Linked DNA regions of Homo sapiens: region 1 is linked to region 2. Evidence: promoter capture Hi-C in 16 types of primary human blood cells and fetal thymus (Javierre and others, 2016). All regions are on one chromosome and are shown on one strand. Each heading gives the region's core, a stretch centred on a gene start or on the middle of the fragment in contact. The rest is flanking DNA. Distances are from core to core; before and after follow the strand shown.

Evidence for each region. The method cuts DNA at HindIII sites, captures the fragments that hold promoters and counts their contacts. A CHiCAGO score of 5 or more calls a contact.
Region 1: a fragment that was not itself captured here is called in contact with the fragment with the promoter of HMGA2-AS1 in region 2 in 1 of 17 cell types (endothelial precursors); the score reaches 6.5 in endothelial precursors.

Annotation. Positions count from the first base shown.
Region 1 is chr12:65,531,924-65,534,623 of GRCh38, forward strand. The region is part of intron 2 of MSRB3-AS1 (MSRB3 antisense RNA 1); the gene reads right to left. Among named protein-coding and RNA genes, the nearest start is that of LINC02454, 70 kb to the right of the region's middle. The HindIII fragment of the contact is 7,122 bases long and covers 1-2,700 here.
Region 2 is chr12:65,880,764-65,883,647 of GRCh38, forward strand. HMGA2-AS1 (HMGA2 antisense RNA 1) reads right to left here and starts at 1,562. Exons shown (of 3, transcript NR_158985.1): 1 at 955-1,562. The region is part of intron 3 of HMGA2 (high mobility group AT-hook 2); the gene reads left to right. The HindIII fragment of the contact is 6,963 bases long and covers 1-2,884 here.

The sequences.
Region 1 (2,700 bases), core at 175-2,674, 350 kb before region 2:
TTCCTGTAAAAATTCAGTAAGAAAGACAGCCTGGATAAGCAAGAAAGAGCTGCCCTAGGAGTACAAGATGATGAGAAAGCCCACATAGGCAGCTTCTTGGTTCCCTAACCAAACAGCCACAGAGGTGGTAGGAGGGCTCAGGTCTCCCAACCTAGCCAGGGACATTTCCCCTATCAGCCTCATCTTGAGAAAAGTTCCTCTTATTTTGCATGGGCACCAAAATAGGAAAGCAAAGGCATTTGCATTTCAAAAATGCAATGTAAGGCAATTCTTAAACAAAAGAAATAAATTTCTATCAATAAAATTAAATTTCTGTCTGCTGGTCCGTTATTGCATCATGAGAAAATAGCTGGATGGATTGTCACTATGTGCAGAGACTATGTTTAGGATGACCTGAGTTACAGCTAGACTATGAAGCATGCACCAAATTCTTCAGGGAGAGGTCAGAAGTCATCCTCTAGAGAATTTGCAGGCCTTGATTTGCAATCAAGCTCTTTTCACAGCAGCAGTTCCATGTAGCTGCGTTCCATGGTGGATAGCCAGGGATTCATTTATTTAACTGCACCAATAAATCCTAAGCAATCCTTAGGGAAGCCACTCACAAATAGTAGAATGTTAGCCACTGGGTGAGGAGGCTGGAGCTGAGAGGGGCTTCCTAGTAGCCCCCAACCACAAAAAATGAGAAACTTTCCAGCTCATCCACTGCCTCAGACTCCTCTTTACTTCTTCTATGGCCATTGGGCTTCAGTGGAAAAACAAAACAAGAGTTGGATGCTTGCTAGACACCCCAACACAAGCCATTTAGGGGTAGGAGGAAGGGAGACTGGGAGAGGAATGTAGGACGTAGAGGTCACATGAAATTATGGCTGCTCCAAGGGGAACACAGTATTCAAGGCATCACGGGAAGTACAGGAGCACAGGCCCTCAGCCAGGATCCCTCTCCTCCCAGCCTCACGGACTCTGATCGGGCAGCCTGGGGGCTAACTGGTCTGCTGGGAGTTGGATAGTCAGTGAAAGCACTCTGCTCTCCTCCCCCAGCCTGCCTCTAGGTAAATGTGTGTATTTAACTAAACCACAACCACAAAGGCTCATGAAATTTTCCTGGAAGCCAATTAAAGCAAGGAGAGTCATAGTAGTAGATAGTATTAAGCCATGTACCAATTCTTTTTGGCTTACAAGTGCCGGAATTGCTTGTTTATACATTAAGAGCAAAAAAAAAAAAAAAAATAGACTGTAGTCTTTTCTCTTAATTGCTGTAATTATACTTGTGCCACCCACAAGAGAGGCCATTGATCTCATTTCTAAAGGGCAATTGTTGTAGCCTGGCTCTTCTGAGAGCTTTACAAAGTTTTTCTCATTTTCTGATTACCACTGGCGTATTGAGCTGCCAGTAGAAATGTATTTTCTCCCTGGTGCATTTCTCCCTCCTCCCCACACTCTCTCTCTCTCTCTCTCTCTTTCTCTCTCTCTCCCTCCCTCCTCCTGTCTCTGCTGCTGCTGGGTAGTTACCAGGAAGAGCTCACTTCCTCCTTCCTCAGGATCAAAAGGGATTGCAATTTCTGTGATCAATTGTGTGTGGTTAGACATTCTCAGAATATCCTGAATGTGGAAGTACTCAAAAGCCCATAATCTGGATAATAGTCGTCTGTGCTGGCCACATCCCTTAGGAAAGGCTCGAGAAACCTGGGTCAAAAAATTTACAAACTTTTTTGGCTCATTCGCATTGTGCGTTGAATTGGGCGAAGCATTTCCTTCGGGCTACCCGATACACAGCAATCTGAAGTATTATTGTGGCCTTCTACGCTTATCCTTGGAAGTCCTGCCTGAGTCCTTTCCCTGTGTAATCGTGAAGGAATGCTGTTCCAAAGACATGGGGTCAGAAGGGTGCAATAAATCAATCCAGATACACCCCTAATGAATGGCAAATTAAACAGCATTTGTTTTAAGTTCATAGGTCCTCTTGGAAGATGCCTTTTTAGTGCAAGCAAAATTCCTGGGTTGCAGGTATGAAAAGCTATGGGGGGTGGGGTGTGGAGGGCTCATAGTCTCTGGGTCGTTTTAGCCACCGTTTTTAAAAGTGCCAAAAATATCCCCAAAGTGAGTTTGCCCAGCTAACTCTGAATGTGCAGTGCTTTCTGCAGCCCTTACCCTAAGACAGAATTGTCTGATTGCTGTGGATTCTGGGGCGACCCAGACCCTTGCTCATTGGGTTTCCCCCTTGCTCATTCAGGTAGTGCTGCTGGGCTGGATAGGTGTTTTTGAGAACCCGCCATCCTCAAGGCTGCAAAGATTGAGCTAAAACAAATCTTCCAGTCACATACAATTCTAGCAGAATCACGGAGACATGGCCTGTGGCATTGAGAAGATTAAATTACCAAGCCCGCTGTGCCCCCTCCCCCAAGTAACTGGAATATACTTGTTAGAGCTGCATCAGAAAGAACAGAATAGCCTTTAGTCTTCCACAGCCCCTAAGCATTTTGGTAATAAATAATAAAAGGTATTTATTACATGTTACAGTGACATTGTGGAATTCAAATGCAGTTAACCATAACATTTTCTTCCTCAAATGTTAAAAAGAAAGAAAAAAGTATTAGGAGTGGGGAGGCAGGACAGCGGGAGCAGTGGCTTTAAAACCTGAGGAATGTGGTAAAGAGAGCCTTGTGTGTTTTTTATAGTCGTAGAATGGGGGTAGAAAGTGGG
Region 2 (2,884 bases), core at 312-2,811:
GTTTAGGTTTCTTTTACTTAAAAAAAAAATTCCTCTGATAAGTGAGGATTCATTTAACTTTCTGGTGGATCATTAGGTACCTTTCAAGAAATGAGAATAATCATAACTGGCTCTATTTATCTTAGCATGGGTTGAAAGATATGAAAAGTTCCTTGATATGACTGGCACGATTCTATCCCATAAAACCACTCGTAAATATCAGTTGAAATAATGCCTGTAGGGAAAATTTTCAAATGTCCTTTCTGTCAATGCAGAAATGCCAGTGCAGCTTGTTTTCTGGGTGGCATGTAAGTTGTAGACAGGCACCACATTTTAGACATATTATGGTGGTGCGGTGAATTGACAGGCAGTTTACCACCATTTCCATGTATTAGATTATGTGTACCTCTGGCTATCCTGACACTTTGCCCCCAAAGTGGAGATAGTGAAAGAGAAGGAGAGAGGGAGAAGAACTCCTCGCATCTGTGCCCCTACCTCAGCAGCTCCTCCTCCTTGTCTCTGAGGGTCTCCAGAGTTTGAGAGTTTGGTGTCATGTTGGCCCAAGAGACTGTTGTCCTTTTGACAGCTCGGCTGTTTGTATCTCCAGAATGAAACATAATCAGATTTTTTTCAGATGTAGCATCTGCCTTCCCTCCAACATCCTTGGGTTAATCACGTGCTTGCTGGCCAGGATATGTAAATAAGACTTGGCTAAAAAAAACCCTTAAAGGATTATGAAGCAATCTTGCTTAATAGTAGCAGAACAAAACAAAACAAAAAACCACTCCAACAAATCCTCCTGTGTGCTACCAAGTAATGGAAAGATCCAGTTATGACTGGAACTGTCCTGGCCTGAGTATTGTCCTGGACCCAGAGGGAGCGAAGGAGGGAGGGAGGGAGGGAGGGAGAAAGAGAGAGAGAGAGGGGAGAAATATGAGAGGAGGAGAGAAATTGCTGAAGGAGAGCTTCACTCACTGACTCCGCACACATTCCCTCCCAGTGGTTGCTAATGAAGAGCCCGTGCTGGTGAAGGAAGCCTGCTGATCCCGGAACTGGCCTTGCGCGCAAGTGGTGGGATGACAGACACATTCCCTTCCTTGAACTGCACTCTTTTCCCTTGCACTCAGAGGTGGCCCGAGAGAGCCCCGGTAGGTCCCGGAGTATGTTTCCATGCTGCAGAAGGCATGGAGAGATTCCAATTGCGGGGGTTCCTCCGTAGCCTTTGCAGCTGAACGTCTCCATCTCCTGTCCCTGGGCGGTCAGTCGCTGGCATGGCTCTGTGGAGTTTTACCTCCCAGTTGTCTATCACCAAAGCTGTCCACCTTGTCCGGAGGGGAATGAGCGTGGAAACCCCTGGCGGCTGTACTGACAAAAGCAACCTTAGTCAATGACAGAGCTGGGCAGGCGGCGAGGTCTTGCGGGCTGGCCTTTCTGCTGCTGGTAGGAGGATCATGTGCTGCTATTTCGGAGGCTCCTGCCAGTTGGCCCCTGCCCACCTTTTCTGTTCATACTGAAGCAGCCAGGAACTGAGAGAAAGAGGAAGCCTCGGCTGTGCTCCGGGCTGCGCTGCCAGGGTTGCGTCTGTAGCAGGTCCAGCAGCAAAAACAAAACAGGGCAGAGCCCAGGGAGGCCCCAGCCACAGCAGCTGAGTGTGGAAACAAAGCAGCCCGCCCGCCCTGGGAAGCTGCCGCAGGCTGTGGAAGGGAACTTCTAGAGAGGCTGCATCCTCTCCAAGCCGGGAAACTGAGGCCTAGAAGACATGTGACGTATCTGAGCAGTGACCAAGCCAGGAGTAGAAATGTCTCCTGAGGGCCTGTCCCCACTGCTGTTTGGTTTTAATCGCTCAGCTCTTAATAGTGTAACCCTGGACAAGTGACTTACTCTCCCCAGCCTCCATCTCATCTGTAAAATGGGGATGAGAAAATACCTCTAAGGGTTGTTGTGACAATTAAATGAGAAAGCATAAACAAAGCACTTGGCACAATGCCTGGCCACTTAATGGGCCCTCAGTAAATGTTGGCTAGTTATGTGAACCAGAACTTGAGATGGAAGTGAAGCAGAAACGATAGGGAGTTGTTCAAAAATACCTGATCTGCTAGGGAAATATTTTTTAAAACAAGGCTGCTTTTCACAAGGAGGGGTAGGCACACTTGAATTAAGATCAGATTGATTATATGTTTTTGTTCAGCTTTGATGTTGAATTGTTTAATCAAATGGCAGACTCTGCCCCGCTTCCAGGAAGAGCTCAACTCCAACTAGGAGGAAGCAGGTAATGTGAGCCATGGCATCTTCCCCGTTTAGATTTCCTGACTCTTTGTTTATCTTCTTTGTCAATGTGCGTCTGAACCTTCCCAACAGAGTTTAAAATGTTCAACTTCAAAGCTAAATTCTGATGGAAAACACTTCCTAAGAGGCTGAAGGCTTACTCTAGGGGTGAAAGAAGAGGAAAGGCGATGGATCACACCACATTTGTGGAAAATGTTAATGCTATGTGATCTTGCCTCCTTAGACCCAGATAGATGCAAAGGATAAGGAACTCGGTTTATAGCAACAGATACTCCAAAAGTGCTTTGCATCCTGTTCTGACACTAACTGGTTGTGAATCACTTGTTAAAGATAAGGATAACAACAATACCATTTCTTGAGCCCTTACTGGGTGTCTGGTATTGTGCAAAGTACTGTCTATATATTACCTCAGTTTCCACAACAACCTTATGAAATATTTCTTCCTTTTGTGATGAGGAAAGTGAGACTTAGAGAGAAGTTAAATAACTTGTTCAAGATCACTCAGCTAATAAATGCTCCTATGCACTTAGTCACTGTGCTATGTCCTGCTTACCCCTTAATGTTGACCTTAATCCTAACTTGAATTTAGGTTAATGTCTATGCACTGCTTTTTTTTCAC